Regions from separate parts of the Homo sapiens genome. Here all the other regions are linked to region 1. The links are contacts of gene promoters, found by promoter capture Hi-C in blood cells and fetal thymus (Javierre and others, 2016). All regions are on one chromosome and are shown on one strand. The core of a region is centred on a gene start or on the middle of the fragment in contact, and the rest is flanking DNA. Distances in the headings are between cores, read along the strand shown. Region 1 holds the start of MED19 (mediator complex subunit 19). Region 2 overlaps LPXN (leupaxin). Region 3 overlaps ZFP91 (ZFP91 zinc finger protein, atypical E3 ubiquitin ligase). Region 4 has its middle 16 kb from the start of OR5B21. Region 5 holds the start of CNTF (ciliary neurotrophic factor).

The links. Contacts are between HindIII fragments. The CHiCAGO score rates a contact against its expected background, and 5 or more counts as called.
Region 2: a contact is called between a fragment that was not itself captured here and the fragment with the promoter of MED19 in region 1, in 3 of 17 cell types (total CD8 T cells, naive CD8 T cells and total CD4 T cells). The highest score is 7.1, in total CD8 T cells.
Region 3: a contact is called between a fragment that was not itself captured here and the fragment with the promoter of MED19 in region 1, in 2 of 17 cell types (naive CD8 T cells and naive CD4 T cells). The highest score is 8.1, in naive CD8 T cells.
Region 4: a fragment that was not itself captured here is called in contact with the fragment with the promoter of MED19 in region 1 in 7 of 17 cell types (naive CD8 T cells, naive CD4 T cells, total CD8 T cells and 4 more); the score reaches 19.4 in naive CD8 T cells.
Region 5: the fragment with the promoter of CNTF here is called in contact with the fragment with the promoter of MED19 in region 1 in 5 of 17 cell types (total CD8 T cells, naive CD8 T cells, total CD4 T cells and 2 more); the score reaches 13.3 in total CD8 T cells.

Annotation. Positions count from the first base shown.
Region 1 is chr11:57,710,818-57,713,517 of GRCh38, reverse strand. MED19 (mediator complex subunit 19) reads left to right here and starts at 1,303. Exons shown (of 5, transcript NM_001317078.4): 1 at 1,303-1,555. The coding sequence starts at 1,339. TMX2 (thioredoxin related transmembrane protein 2) reads right to left here and starts at 925. Exons shown (of 8, transcript NM_015959.4): 1 at 711-925. The coding sequence starts at 899. It overlaps TMX2-CTNND1 (TMX2-CTNND1 readthrough (NMD candidate)), which reads right to left and starts at 995. Exons shown (of 21, transcript NR_037646.1): 1 at 711-995. RefSeq lists a silencer at 1,333-1,672. The HindIII fragment of the contact is 3,048 bases long and covers 1-2,700 here.
Region 2 is chr11:58,547,894-58,550,593 of GRCh38, reverse strand. It overlaps LPXN (leupaxin), which reads left to right. Exons shown (of 9, transcript NM_004811.3): 6 at 448-621; 7 at 727-808. Among named protein-coding and RNA genes, the nearest start is that of LPXN, 27 kb to the left of the region's middle. The HindIII fragment of the contact is 2,737 bases long and covers 24-2,700 here.
Region 3 is chr11:58,604,269-58,606,973 of GRCh38, reverse strand. The region is part of intron 2 of ZFP91 (ZFP91 zinc finger protein, atypical E3 ubiquitin ligase); the gene reads right to left. All of the region lies in intron 2 of ZFP91-CNTF (ZFP91-CNTF readthrough (NMD candidate)), which reads right to left. Among named protein-coding and RNA genes, the nearest start is that of CNTF, 17 kb to the left of the region's middle. The HindIII fragment of the contact is 3,636 bases long and covers 1-2,705 here.
Region 4 is chr11:58,523,004-58,525,703 of GRCh38, reverse strand. No RefSeq gene overlaps it. Among named protein-coding and RNA genes, the nearest start is that of OR5B21, 16 kb to the right of the region's middle. RefSeq lists a silencer at 814-1,108. The HindIII fragment of the contact is 3,138 bases long and covers 1-2,700 here.
Region 5 is chr11:58,621,259-58,623,958 of GRCh38, reverse strand. It overlaps CNTF (ciliary neurotrophic factor), which reads right to left and starts at 1,294. Exons shown (of 2, transcript NM_000614.4): 1 at 1,093-1,294. The coding sequence starts at 1,206. ZFP91 (ZFP91 zinc finger protein, atypical E3 ubiquitin ligase) reads right to left here. Exons shown (of 11, transcript NM_053023.5): 11 at 2,409-2,700. ZFP91-CNTF (ZFP91-CNTF readthrough (NMD candidate)) reads right to left here. Exons shown (of 13, transcript NR_024091.1): 12 at 1,093-1,193. The HindIII fragment of the contact is 9,454 bases long and covers 1-2,700 here.

The DNA of each region.
Region 1 (2,700 bases), core at 54-2,553:
CAGTCCCTCCACCCATACCAAGGAAGCACAGCAAGGAGCTTGGGACACTTCCCAAAGAAATCCCAAAGATTTCTTTACAACGTATTTTTTACAATTCCTTTACAGTAGCCCCCAAATTTTATCCACTTTCGCATCTTCAGGATCAAGCAGAGTGCCTAGAGTGTACACTCTAGAAATGTTTATTGAATTAAGAAGCGGCTGACAGTGTTGTGCAGGTAGTGTGGCCAGAAGAGTAGTTTCAAGTCCCAGGCACTCATTAGTTGTATGACCTGGGGCAAGTCACCTAAATATACCGAGATCCATTTCTTCACCAATGAAACAGGAATATTACTACTTGCCTTGTCTACCTTACTGGCTCCTCAGGAGGCTTTACATAATGAGCGGCACTGTAAAACGTTATACACGTGTATGTACAGTTTTGATAGGGCTGTTAATTAGTCTCAATGGTGAAACAGAAAGAAACCTGGACTCAACAGTCAAAAGCTGTTGGGCCGTTGTGCATGGGCTACGACTAACATGTTCCGTTTTCCCATCTTAAACACAAAGTTTAGACTCGATGATGGTTCGGACCCTGCACTTAATAGTCTCTAAGTCCGCTACAGGCTCGGAACCTCAGGTGTCCTCAGAGAGGTAAACCCCAGGGTTCCCAGATACACCTGCAAGGGCAGGGACAGTCAAGGTCGCGGGGTACTAACACGCGGGAGGCTCACCCAGTCAAAGTCACACGGGTTACCGTCTTCGCGTTGGGTGGGCAGACCGTGGCAGAGCGGCGGCAGTTTCCTCACGAGTAGGAAGGCAGCAGAGAGCAGGGCCGACAGAAGGTAGTAAGGTTGGGCGAGCCATCGTGAAAGTCGCGGCACCGAATACACGAGAGCAATTAGAGGTGCCAAGACCGCCATCTTTTCGGCCGTAACGGCCACTGCTCGCCGGCGTCGTAGGTCTCGCCCCGCCTCCCCCACCATAACGACTGCTATTGGGCTATATCGCAAACGTACGGCCTCTAAACCCGGATGTAGTTCTCTGAACGCTGTGGTAGGTCAGAACCCAAAAAAGAACTTAATATTTTATTGGTTAGTCTAGTTGTCGCTTTATCCGCCTAAGTCATTTTATTGGACTGTAGCAAGCAGAGCTAGCAGAAGACTCTAATAAGGTTAAATAGCACTTCCTGAACGTTCTCATAAGGCGACGGAAGTAGTTGTTGAAAAAAGGTAGGCGGTGCCTGAGGCATCCAATGACAAGCGGCTCCTTGAGAAAGGGCGGGGGGGTACTCCTTGAAAGCATTGTCCAATGAAAATTACCAACGGCAGACACGGAGACAGCGCCGGGGCGGAGGGTACGATGGAGAATTTCACGGCACTGTTTGGGGCTCAGGCTGACCCACCACCGCCCCCAACCGCACTCGGCTTCGGACCAGGAAAGCCTCCACCCCCGCCACCGCCTCCTGCGGGCGGGGGACCCGGCACGGCCCCGCCTCCCACCGCGGCCACGGCTCCTCCTGGCGCGGACAAGTCAGGAGCTGGCTGTGGCCCTTTTTACCTCATGAGGGAACTGCCAGGTGAGTACTCGGCCTTGCCAAAGCCAGCCAATCAAATCTTAGAGAGGAGGTGATGGGCGTGGCTCTCAGCCGGCTAGCGGAGGTGCGAGGTAACCTAGGCAACGCATACCCGGACTGTGGAGCCCTAAGTCGGAAGCGCTGTTAGGATTCACAAGCAGAGGGATGACTTGAATTCAACCAGGATGAGTTGAATTCAACCAAAGGGATGAATGGCGGGCAGGGGCGTAGTGCATCTCCGTTACTGTCTTTTGCACCATGTCCAGGCTGTGTCCCTGACACTGGTTTATGTCTCTCTAAAAAATGACCTAGGGCTGGGCGCGGTGGCTCACGCCTGTAATCCCAACACTCTGGGAGGCGGAGGCGGGCGAATCACCTAAGGTCAGGAGTTCGAGACCGGCCTGGCCAACATGATGAAACCCTGTCTCCACAAAAAACACAAAAATTACCTGGGCGTGGTGGCGTATACCTTTAATTCCAGCTACTCGGGAGGCTGAGGCGGGAGAATCGTTTGAACCCCGGGAGGCGGAGGTTGCAGAGAGCCGACATTGCTCCACTGCACTCCAGCCTGGGCGAACGAGACTCCGTCTCAAAACAAACAAAATCCAGGGTTTGAGTTTGGAACTCGAGAGGCCTGATTTAATATCTTTGGGGACCCAAAGTTTTAGTTACAGGTCTCCCACAGACTTGCTATTGGTTTGGGGCAAGTTGCCATTCTTCCTTCTAAGGTTCCGGCATTTCCTGGTCTGATCAAAAAAGGGATAAGAATCGAACCAAACTCTTCATTCAAAAAATTATTTTGTTGAGTACCTATGTACCAAGCACTTTTCTAAATGCTGGAGACAGTTGTGAACAAGACTGACAAGATGCTTGCCTTTTTTGGGATGTACATTTCAGTGGAGGAGGCATTGTAAACAAGATAATGTCAGAAAGTGGTTAATGCTAGGAAAAGAAAACATGATAAAAATTGAAGGTGGCCAGGCGCGTTGCTCACGCCTGTAATCCCAGCGCTTTGGGAGGCCGAGGCAGAATCCCTTGAGCCCAGGAGTTTGAGACCAGCATGGGCAACATGGCGAGACCCAGTCTCTACAAAATATACAAGATTAACCGGGCGTGGTAATGCATGCCTGTAGCCCCAGCTACTCAGG
Region 2 (2,700 bases), core at 143-2,642, 840 kb before region 1:
CACCGAAGCTATGATAAAAAGCTTTGAGACCTGACTGCATGGGGCGTGGAATAAAGTGTTCAAACTAGAGGAATAAAAACTGTCATTTGGCCTTTTCCTCTTCCAGGGGTCCCTTCCACACTAAGGCTACAGTTACAACTTCTCTGTCATCAATGTGCTATATGTTGTTTCTGCCACCCCCTGTGGCAGTGCAGTGGTTGTGAACATTTACAGGCTTTCATCACAGTGATCAGTCCCGGAAGTGGGCATCCTTTTATTATCAATCCATAAAGCACAGACCACAGATGGCCTTAGGTGGAACCTAGGTCTAGGCCTCAGTGTTGTATAATTCCAGGGCGTGTTGTCTACAAGGGGTACAATGTGAAGAGTGCTCCCTAGAGTTGTGCAACCTGTAGGCTGTAGAGCACTCAACTGGCCTCCTGTGTCAGGCTTTATTTCACTCCACAGGTGATCCATGCTCTAGGGCAATCATGGCATCCTGAGCATTTTGTCTGTACTCATTGCAAAGAAGAGATTGGCTCCAGTCCCTTCTTTGAGCGGAGTGGCTTGGCCTACTGCCCCAACGACTACCACCAACTTTTTTCTCCACGCTGTGCTTACTGCGCTGCTCCCATCCTGGATGTAAGTAAATCCCCGCTCCTCTCCAGCTTTCAGTCACTCACTTAGAACCAGAGTCATGCTTTACAACTTCTGCATCATTATAATATCTGTGTGTTCCCTTTCCAGAAAGTGCTGACAGCAATGAACCAGACCTGGCACCCAGAGCACTTCTTCTGCTCTCACTGCGGAGAGGTGTTTGGTGCAGAAGGTATGACCCGACTTGAGAGGCTGTATCCCACACCCCAGTGGGTAGTTATAAGACCAGCAACACCTTTCCTGGTAGTCACGGGAGTCCTGGTTCCTATCAGTACTATCAAAGTGCCCATTTCAGTACTAGATACCATCCCTCCCTACCTTTCTCCAACATTTATAATTTCCCTTTAAATTGATTTTTTAAATCACAGAAATACAAATGCATAGTTTAAAAACTCAAATATTACTTCAAGGGTAATATTGAAAAAGCCTTTTCTTGTTGAATATTGAAAAAGTCCCTTTCTCATCTCCAAATCCAGTTCTCCTCTCCAAATTATTTTAGCTGTTTCTTCTGATATTTACTTATTTTTTGTTGTTGTTGTTGTTTGTTTTTTTGAGACGGAGTCTCACTGTGTTGCCCAGGCTGGAGTGCAGTGGTGCGATCTCTGGTGCGATCTCCGCCCACTGCAACCTCCACCTCCTGGGTTCAAGCGATTCTCCTGCCTCAGCCTCCCAAGTAGCTGGGACTACAGGCACTTGCCACCACACCCGGTTAATTTTTGTATTTTTAGTAGGGACAATGTTTCACCATATTGGCCAGGCTGGTCTTGAACTCCTGACCTCGTGATCCGCCCGCCTTGGCCTCCCAAAGTGCTGGCATTACAGGCATGAACTACTGCGCCTGGCCTGCTTATGTGTTTTAAATAATAACTTTATATTGTTATAGATTGTTTTATTTTTCCAGTTTTAACCATTATGTATTGACTGTCTAAGAGGGAAGATGAGGTTTAGAAATGTTATTATTACCCCACTCACTCCTAACATATTTCCCCTCCCCTGTTTTTTCAATATATAATTATGTCATAATTACAGGTTAGATCAGTATTAAGTGTGCATATGTTGACAATCATAGAATACTGCTCACAAGTAAGCCATGTAGCAAACTGACTACACTAGAGTCTGGATTTTAGAGTCAGACTTCCAGGTTCAAATCTGGGTTGTGGTATTTGTTCAAGTCATTTAACATCTCTGTACCTTACTTTCCTCATCAGTAAAATAGTCCTAATGAAATTGCCTACCTTATAGGGTTGTTATGAGGATTTAGAGACAATACAAGCGTGGTATTTAGAATAGTGCCAAGCACATGGAGGTATAGTAGTGTTAATATTATTATCACAGTGTCCTTTTGGTATAAATTCATTTTTTTCTAAAGTTAACATTTGAATCCTTTTTGAAATTGGCTTAGTTTTTATTGTACTTATCACTAAGTTATGCAACAGAACTGTGAAATTCTTTTCAAAATGGCCAACTACATCTGGCAACAAGTCAGTTTCTTTCTTTTCTTTTTTTTTTTTCTGGAGATATCCCTCCAGGAGACTTTCCTCCTCCTGATTCAACATGAAATGATTTCTTCCTGCTGAGTAGCAGTCATTCTGGTTCATTAACTTAGAATTATATCTAGTAATTACTCTTGGAAATTCCTTTTATTAGTTTCCTCTTTGGATGCTCTGTTTCCTGGGTCCCATGTCTATGTTTTATACATGTTACCACCTTTATTTTGGTGGGGAACATCCCCTAGTAGCTTTCTGAGAAAGAATTTTTGAGAACTTGAATATCTGAAAATATTTTTATTCTGTCATTGCCCTTAAGTTGCCTGGGCATAGAATTCTAAGTGGAAACTATTTTCCTTCATAATTCTGAAGACATTGCTTCACTGTCTTCTAGCTTCCATGATTGGCAAGTTTTTATTAAATTTTTTTTATCCTTGATCCTTTCTACATGACCCATTCTTCCCCCTTTGTATGTTTGTTTCATGTGTTTTCTGAATTGTCTTGTTTTTTTTAATTTCTCCTTTTTATGTTTGTTTTGAACAAATATGGAATCAGAAAGCTGCTTTACTTTGTTTTT
Region 3 (2,705 bases), core at 177-2,676, 890 kb before region 1:
CCGTCCCCTAAAAATCTAGTCTTAAAAAAAAACCACTCTGTCAGAGATGACAGCAAAAATGTCCCTCCACAGAAATAAACACATATCATGAACAAACACTGTCAGAATCAACTTTGTGGAAACTCTTAACAATAGTTAAAGGTTATAAAAGCCAAGTGAGCACTGAATCAAGAAAAAGGTGAGTAAAGATGTTTAAGGAAATCTGTCAAATCACTTGATGAATATAAGCGAAAGGACCAGAACCTTTAGAGACCACAGAGACCAAAGTAGGAGCTAAACATTAGGTACTCATGGACATAAAGATGGCAACAACAGAAACTGGAGATTATTGGGGGGAGGTTGAAAAACTATTGGGTACTATGCTCAGTACCTGCATGATGGGATCATTTGTATCCTAAATTTCATATCATACAATATGCCCCAGTAACAAACCTGCACATGTACCCCCGAATCTAAAATAAAAGTTGTAAAAAACAATGTTTAAAGAACTAAAGACAATCAGAGCTAAAGAAAATCACTGACAAAGTACTAAAGGAAATCAGAAGAAATATGTCTCGACAAATACAGAATACCAATAAAAAGATAACTATAAAAAGGAACCAAGAGAGGCCGGGTACAGTGGCTCACACCTGTAATCCCAGCACTCTGGAGGGCCAAGGTGGGCGGATCACCTGAGGTCAGGAGTTCGAGACCAGCCTGGCCAACATGGCAAAACCCCGTCTCTACTAAAAATACAAAAATTAGCTGGGCTGCTTGTAGCAGCGCATCCCTGTATTCTCAGCTACTTGGGAGGCTGAGGTAGGAGAATCACTTGAACCCAGGAGGTGGAGGGTGCAGTGAGCCGAGATAACACCATTGCACTCCAGCATAGGCGACAAGAGTGAAACCACACCCCCCCCACAAAAAAGGAACTAAGAGAAAAAAATTCTAGAGCTGAGAAGTATAATAACTGAAATTAAAAATTCACCGCAGACTTGAAAAACAAGAATCAGTGAACTTTAAGCTAGGCCAACAGAGATGATCCAGTATGAAGAATATAAAGAAAAAAAGAATAAAGGAAAATAAAGCCTAAGAGATCGTTTAGACAACCATTAAGCATGCCAACAGATGCATAATAAGATTTGCAGAAGGAGAGGAGAAAATGAACAGAAAGAATATTTGAAAAACTATTGGGGAATATAGTCTGTACAAACAAGAACTTTACCTAACTCCTAGTAGGATAAATGAAAGAGATCCCCACCTAGACACATTATTATCAATCGGTAGAAAGACAAATACAAAGAACCATAAAAACAGCAAGAAGTGACTCATAAGCAACAAGGAATACTCAACAAGATTAACAGCCGCTCATCAGAAACCATGGAAGTCAGAAGGCAGTGTGATAACAAAGTGATGAAAGGAAAAAAAAAAATCGTCAAGCAAGAATTCTATAGCTGCCGAAACTATTCTTTAAAAACGAAGATGAAATTAAGACATTACCAGAAAATCAAAAACAGATTATCACTAGTAGATCTGCCCTATAAAAAATGCTATCAGGAATCCTCTAAGATGAAATTAAAGGACACTAGAGAGCACTTAAAGCCATAAATTAAAACACTGGCATATTTTACAGAGGCAAAAATATGATATTGTACTTTTGATTTCTAACTCCTTTTTCTCCCTACATGATTTGAAAGACAAATGTACAAAATAGCAACTGTAAATTTATGTTAATGGGCATTTGACATCAAAACATACACTTTGCAACAATAACATAAATGGTGAGGCACAGAATAGTACAGAGCAGAGATATGTTTACTACTGAAGCTAAACTGGCATTAAACTAGATAAAGTTTAAAGTACTAAATGCAATCCCCAGGTAACCCCTAAGAAAATAAAAATATACAGAAAATGAAAAGAGAAGATGGTACACTGCTATATATCTGCAACACAAGGAAATACAAAGAAAATAAAGATCAAAATAAAAGATATTAAGACAGGTAGAAAACACAAAGCAAAATGGCAGGCCATTCTTATCGGTAGTTTACACATACATATAGTGTGGAATTAAAAGGTACATATTAGCAGAATGGATTAACAAAAAATACAACCAATCTACAATCTGTCTACAAGAAACTCACGTTAGACCTGGTTGTCCAATCTTTTGGCTTCCCTGGGCCACACTGGAAGGAGATGACATGTCTTGGGCCACACATAAAATACACTAATGATAGCTGATAAGATAAAAAAATTTAAAAAAGAACTCATAATGTGTTAAGAAAGTTTACGATTTTGTGTTGGGACACATTCAAAGCCGTTCTGAGCCGCATTCAGACTGCAGGCCATAGTGGACAAGTTTGCTTTAGATCCAAAGACACAAACAGGTTCAAAGTAAAAGAATGGATTAAGATATTACATGCGAATAGTAAGCAAGAGAGAGCTGAAATAATGTATTAGTCTACCAGGGCTGCTCTACCAATCACAACAAACTGGGATGTCTTAAAACAACAGAAATCTATTCTCCCATACTTCTGGAGGATAAAAGTCCAAAATCAACACAATAACAGACCACACTCCCTCTCAGACTCTGAGAAGAATCATTCCTTGCCTCTTCCTAGCTTTTGGTGGTGGTCAACAACTTGGCTTATAGCTGCTAACTTCAATTCTATCTCCATCATCACACGGTGTTTCCTCCTGTCCCATGTGTGATGTCCTTATTCTTATAA
Region 4 (2,700 bases), core at 84-2,583, 810 kb before region 1:
GAAATGGATTAAATGTTTCTTGCCAAACTTTATTATATCTATGTCCTTTGTTGGAATGGATAATAAGGGGGTTGTGAGAGTTACAAGGAATTGGCAACAGTTAATTCTATAAAATAGGAACTCCAAATGCATGTAAGATATGTGGGAGGCCACACAGATACGGAACCATCTGGCCTCTATCCTGTTTGGCTGTCTGAGAGCGCCAGACTATGCAGAACACACATTCAACTTTTAAACATCCTCTTTGCAATGTCTTCACTCAACGATGTCACACGCAGGTGTTAATATGGCAATGTTCTTGGTTGCCTTGGCAATTTGACAAAATAAACTTGGAGTTTTAGCCCTTAAAAAGAAATGTACAGGTGCTAAAACTTTTTTAAAAAGGATTAGCTATTTTGAGATTCAATAGAATTTAACTATTTTTAAATGTCAAAGAAAATCCAGAGTTCACTAAGATGTAATTAAGAAGTGAAAACACTTTCTTCCCACATTGAACGGAAGTGGTTTTATTTGCTCAAAAAGAGATACTGACTTCAGGACCAGTGTTTTAGCAATAAGGAAACTACTCACAAGTAAAAAGTTCTGCTTTTTAAAAACCCTGGAAATGCCATTACTAAAATTGATCACGTACTTATTTACTTTTGGTTTTGAGTAACTTCTAGGATGTTTAAAAAATAAAACCCACCCTCACAGGACAGGGATTTTCCACCAGTGAATATAAACATATAGAAAGGAATATGCTCTAGAGTTGGCACTGTATTCTCAAAGGGGAGTCCCTCAATTAGTTTGGTCAGTTTTTCTTTGAAGTAAATTTAGTCTCTTCCAAGGTAATACTTTGATAAAGACAACAATTATTTTTCCATCCAAGTTCTATCACACACTCTTCTTGGAGTTGTAGGATGGCTGCCAGCGCATGCTTCTTGTTTCATAACCAGTAGGGGGAGCAAGAGTGCTTTTATCGAGCATTTGCAAGCAAAAGTTCTGGGATTCATCCTCACTGGTCTAGCCTAGGTCACATACCAGTAATTTTTGCTGGGGGAATGGATTCTGCAGCTTGGCTTAAACCAAACTGAATTATTTCCAAAGTTACAAGCAGGACTAAGTTTCCCGAAAGCACAAGGGCTTTGTGGAGGAGATGTGAATACTTTAAAAGCTGGATATTGGTAAGAAGCGGGAAGAGGACAATGAATCTTGAATTCGTGTGTTCAAAAGTGAAAATATTGGAGTTTCTGAGTTTCAAGGTAATGTAGAAGGTAAGCAAGCAGGCATTGTCAGTATCCTGAGGGATCATGTCCAAGAACTTTACAGAACCCAAAGGCAGAGGAGAGAGCCAGGAATGCTGGTGTCCTGAGGAACATGCGGCAGTGGCACTGCTCTTCCTGGGCCCCTAGGGGCGCACCACTGAGAAGCATCAAAAGCACCTTCAGTTTGGCAGTCTGGAAAAGGAGATCTTGCAGCTGAAATCAAGGTGAGAAAGAGTAGCAGCTTCCTTTAGAGGCGAGTGTCTTAGGCATAAGCACGTCCTCAATAAGGCAGTGGTGGCAGCCACTGAAATATGACACTGAAAAAGAGATTGCCTGTCCCCAAAATATTGTGGAGGTTGTGTTACTAGGTACCATCAGTGCAGCACATTAAGTGCTGGGAACACAGAGCTCAGTGGGGAAATGGAAATCTCTTGGGATCCACAGGATAAAAAAGAAAGAAATCTCAGGTAAAAGCTGGTGCTTGGGTTGTACTTGTTGCAAATTTATAACTTTGCCAGAAGGCAGTGTTGTCTCAAATTTATAAGAAAGGAGACAGTTTATGTAGGACATTCCCCTACCTTAGATATAGTCAGCGTATAGTGCCTAAATTGATTTTCCGTGGGGAGAAGTCTCCTAACTGTGTTTAGGTTCATAGACCATGGATTACGGACAATTGCATAAACTTCCTGGCACCCTGTTGAGAGCCATCCATCTTCCCTTCCTATTTTGGATATCATTAAATCACAATAAATACTGTATTATGGGAATAACATTTTTCCTGGGATAAGTACCTCCATTCTAGCGAGAGATATCTCAGATCACAGGTGTTACTGGAAAAACTCCTAAAGCTGAAAATGAACAGACCAAGGAATCAAAGAAGGCTTTACTTTCTCTAAACTTTAACTTAGAGAATTTGATTTTGGATTTTAATGTTTTTGGACTTTGATATGCTATGTTGAATAATATTATTGGATATAATTGAGGATGGGACGTGAAATGAAAGGGGAGTGAATTTCTGAGCTGTTTTTCCCCACAGTCTAGTTTCTCCACAAAGAACTGCATCTCCCATTCTTGGTCCATGTGTTTAGGCAAGGCTGACTTTAACCTCAGCCTCAGAAATAGGTACAGTCCCAGGTCTGACCAATAAAAGTACTTTGTTCTTCTGAAGGAAGGTGATTGGATCAGGGATAGACATGTGACCTCAGCAAAGCCAATGACCTTTACTAGATTTATTCAGAAAGAACATTCCCATTCGTTGGAATTCTAGTTGTGCGGATAATAAAAACCCATTGCTGCTGATAAATATTTTTATCATCACTTGGGGGAGGCTGTCTGAGAAAGAGGCCAGCACAGTGGAACGTAGAACCAAGTAATGGAGAGGCTGTGTTTTCTTTTTTTGAGCCACTCAGTTCTACCATAGCAGCATCTTAACCATAGACTAGGAAATTATGTGAGC
Region 5 (2,700 bases), core at 45-2,544, 910 kb before region 1:
CAAAATCTCACTCATCTCTCTGGCCAAGGATCCAAGTTGTAAAGTAAATAATATGTCTACAGTAGGAACTCTTAATTTGGGCTCTATGACTGGACTTTAGAAAGACCCAATACTGCCTGAAATTGACTACCTATGGATTTTTCTTAGAAGAATGTTCAGATTTTATTGAGTTCTAAAGGTTGAAAACTGATTTAGAAGAATTTTTCCTTCTCACTTCAAACTCTCTCATTAACTGGAATATTTTAATCATATTAAAGTATTTTTAAACATACTTGTAAAAGACACTGGCCACAACTAGGAAAACTTGGAATATAGCCATTGTAGAATTTCTCTAACTTCCCTCTCCCCATTGAGCACTCCCAAAGAGTCTGATTTCTGTCTGGTGAGGCTGTACAAAGATAAATCAGTTCTCAGCCTAAATTCAAAACTCTCCACAGGGGTTGGAGTATTTCCACAGCATATCTCAGGTGGAAATTGATGGGGATCCCCTTACTGTTAGAAGACAAATCTGGAACTCCAGAATTAGCTCAAGAATTTGACACTTCCACAAGTTTCCAATGAATCTTCTAGGAGATCCTTTTGATAGCTTACCTTTCTCTTTAGACACAATCTACTTTTGATGCAGAATACTAAAAGGTGGGTGGCTAATGCTATATAGGAGAAATTGGTAGGATTTACAAATTCCTCCCACGTTCATAGTACTCTTCCTATCCCATAAACCTTTCATTTACATAGCTAAAAAATTCAGAACAATGGCTATGAAGAACCCAGAGGGCCCATGGCTAATCTGTTCTAGTAGTATTCAGAATATATGCCAATAAATTTGGAATAGCCTCCAAGACATATAAACCAATCCTTTCTAGAACTCCATATATATTTTCTCATTCAAGTAACTTCATCTCCTAAACAGCCCAGAGGAAGAAAATAAAGTCACATGGGTTTCCTCAAGGGAAGGGCCCATGTCAAATAACCTATATGAATGACTATATGATTAGAGCTTTCACAATTGGTAATGGAGCTGATGCGTGATGGTAAGTTGCTGGATCAAAAAAGATGAAGGGAAAACAGATAACAGCAAAATAGGCAACTTACATAGGATTCCGTAAGAGCAGTCAGGTCTGAACGAATCTTCCTTGCTAGCCAGATAGAGCGGCTACAGAGGTCCCGACGGTGAGGGGTCAGCGGTGAATGCTCTGTGAAAGCCATCCCTTAACTCAACTGTCCCAGGAAACAAGTCAGCTGGGTTTACTTCTGTCTATACTGGTCCAAATAAGAGATGTGACTCTCAAAGACTAAACCCACTGGGCATTCTCTACTAATGGGATTGTGCACCCCACCCCCACGCCCTGCCTGACTCAGAGGAGGTAGCAAATTCCTGGCTGTGGATTTTTGTGCCTGTGGAATCAAAGGGCCCTTTTTAATCAGATTTTTTTTCCCCTGCAGCGTCTGCCTCCATCTCTCTCCTCCACTCAGTACTTAGCACACTTGTTTCTATGTCATTGTTTTGCTTTTGCACTTAGCAACAAGGTCACTATCATACCAATCCTCATGGCACCCCTGCCTAATGTAATCTATCTCACACACTTAGAATTAGTTCATTTTATTATCATTCTCCCTTATGCTTCCCATGTCTTTTTTCTCATAGGCTGGCGAAATGTTCATTCAATAAAATTGTTATTGACACAGCTGCCATTTATTAAGTATCTACCATGGGTCAGTCAGTAAGCTAAATACTTTAAAGCAATTCCATTTGATCTTCAGAATATTTCTGAGGTAAATGTTATTTCTCCATATAAGAAACTGAAACTTCAAGAAATAACATGCACAAAATCAAGTAACGAGGCTTGAATTTAAATAGAAGTCTGATTCTATAGTTGTCTCTCCCACTGACTTTCCAATTTCATTTTCTGTTTAGGTAGTTCACATCTTGTTCAAGAAACAAAGGGTGTGTGAAGTCCTTTAAAAACAGGATTTTTTTCACTCCTAACCTTACGTACTTTTTAAAGGTAATTTAATTTATACTTAAAAATCAAGCAAGGAAGCATCTCTAATTTCAATCACGGTGCCTTCCTGGTAGCTACATAGGAGGAGGAAGGTACTGTTTAGGCCTGTTCTCTTCCAAAGAACAGGAAACACCCAACGCTAACTTGGTAACATTTCTAAAGCAGTCTCACTCAAGTGACAACATGCTTTCCTTTTTTCTCCCCTACCCAGTCATACCACATGCTTCTTAAAATAAGAGAATGAGCTGGGCTTTGAAATGACAGTATAAAAGTTAAAAGGTACTTGGAGGGTTGTCATTCTATTGCATTTAACTTAGAAAATGATGCTTATTGGGTAAGGGCTAAATGAAATAATTAGCTTTCATTATTTATATCATAGATATTGCCAATAAGCTGAAACACATACCATCTTAGAAGCAAATTTATAAAAGTAAACAATAAATGGGAGATGTAACAGAGCAGCCTGGGCAGCTATCACAGCATGGCTTTTGGAAGGCAGAAGGATTATAGTTTTTTCTTTTTTAAAATAAAAATCAGTACTTGATATAAACATTCAATTTTGAGAAGAAGTATTAATATTAAATGCTATCAAGGTTTTGTCATTATCAGGGTAAAATTAACCTCACATAATCCTTAATTTTCCATCTACTAGGTTAATTAACATATGGCCAGTTTTCCTAGGAGGCAGTTGTCAAAA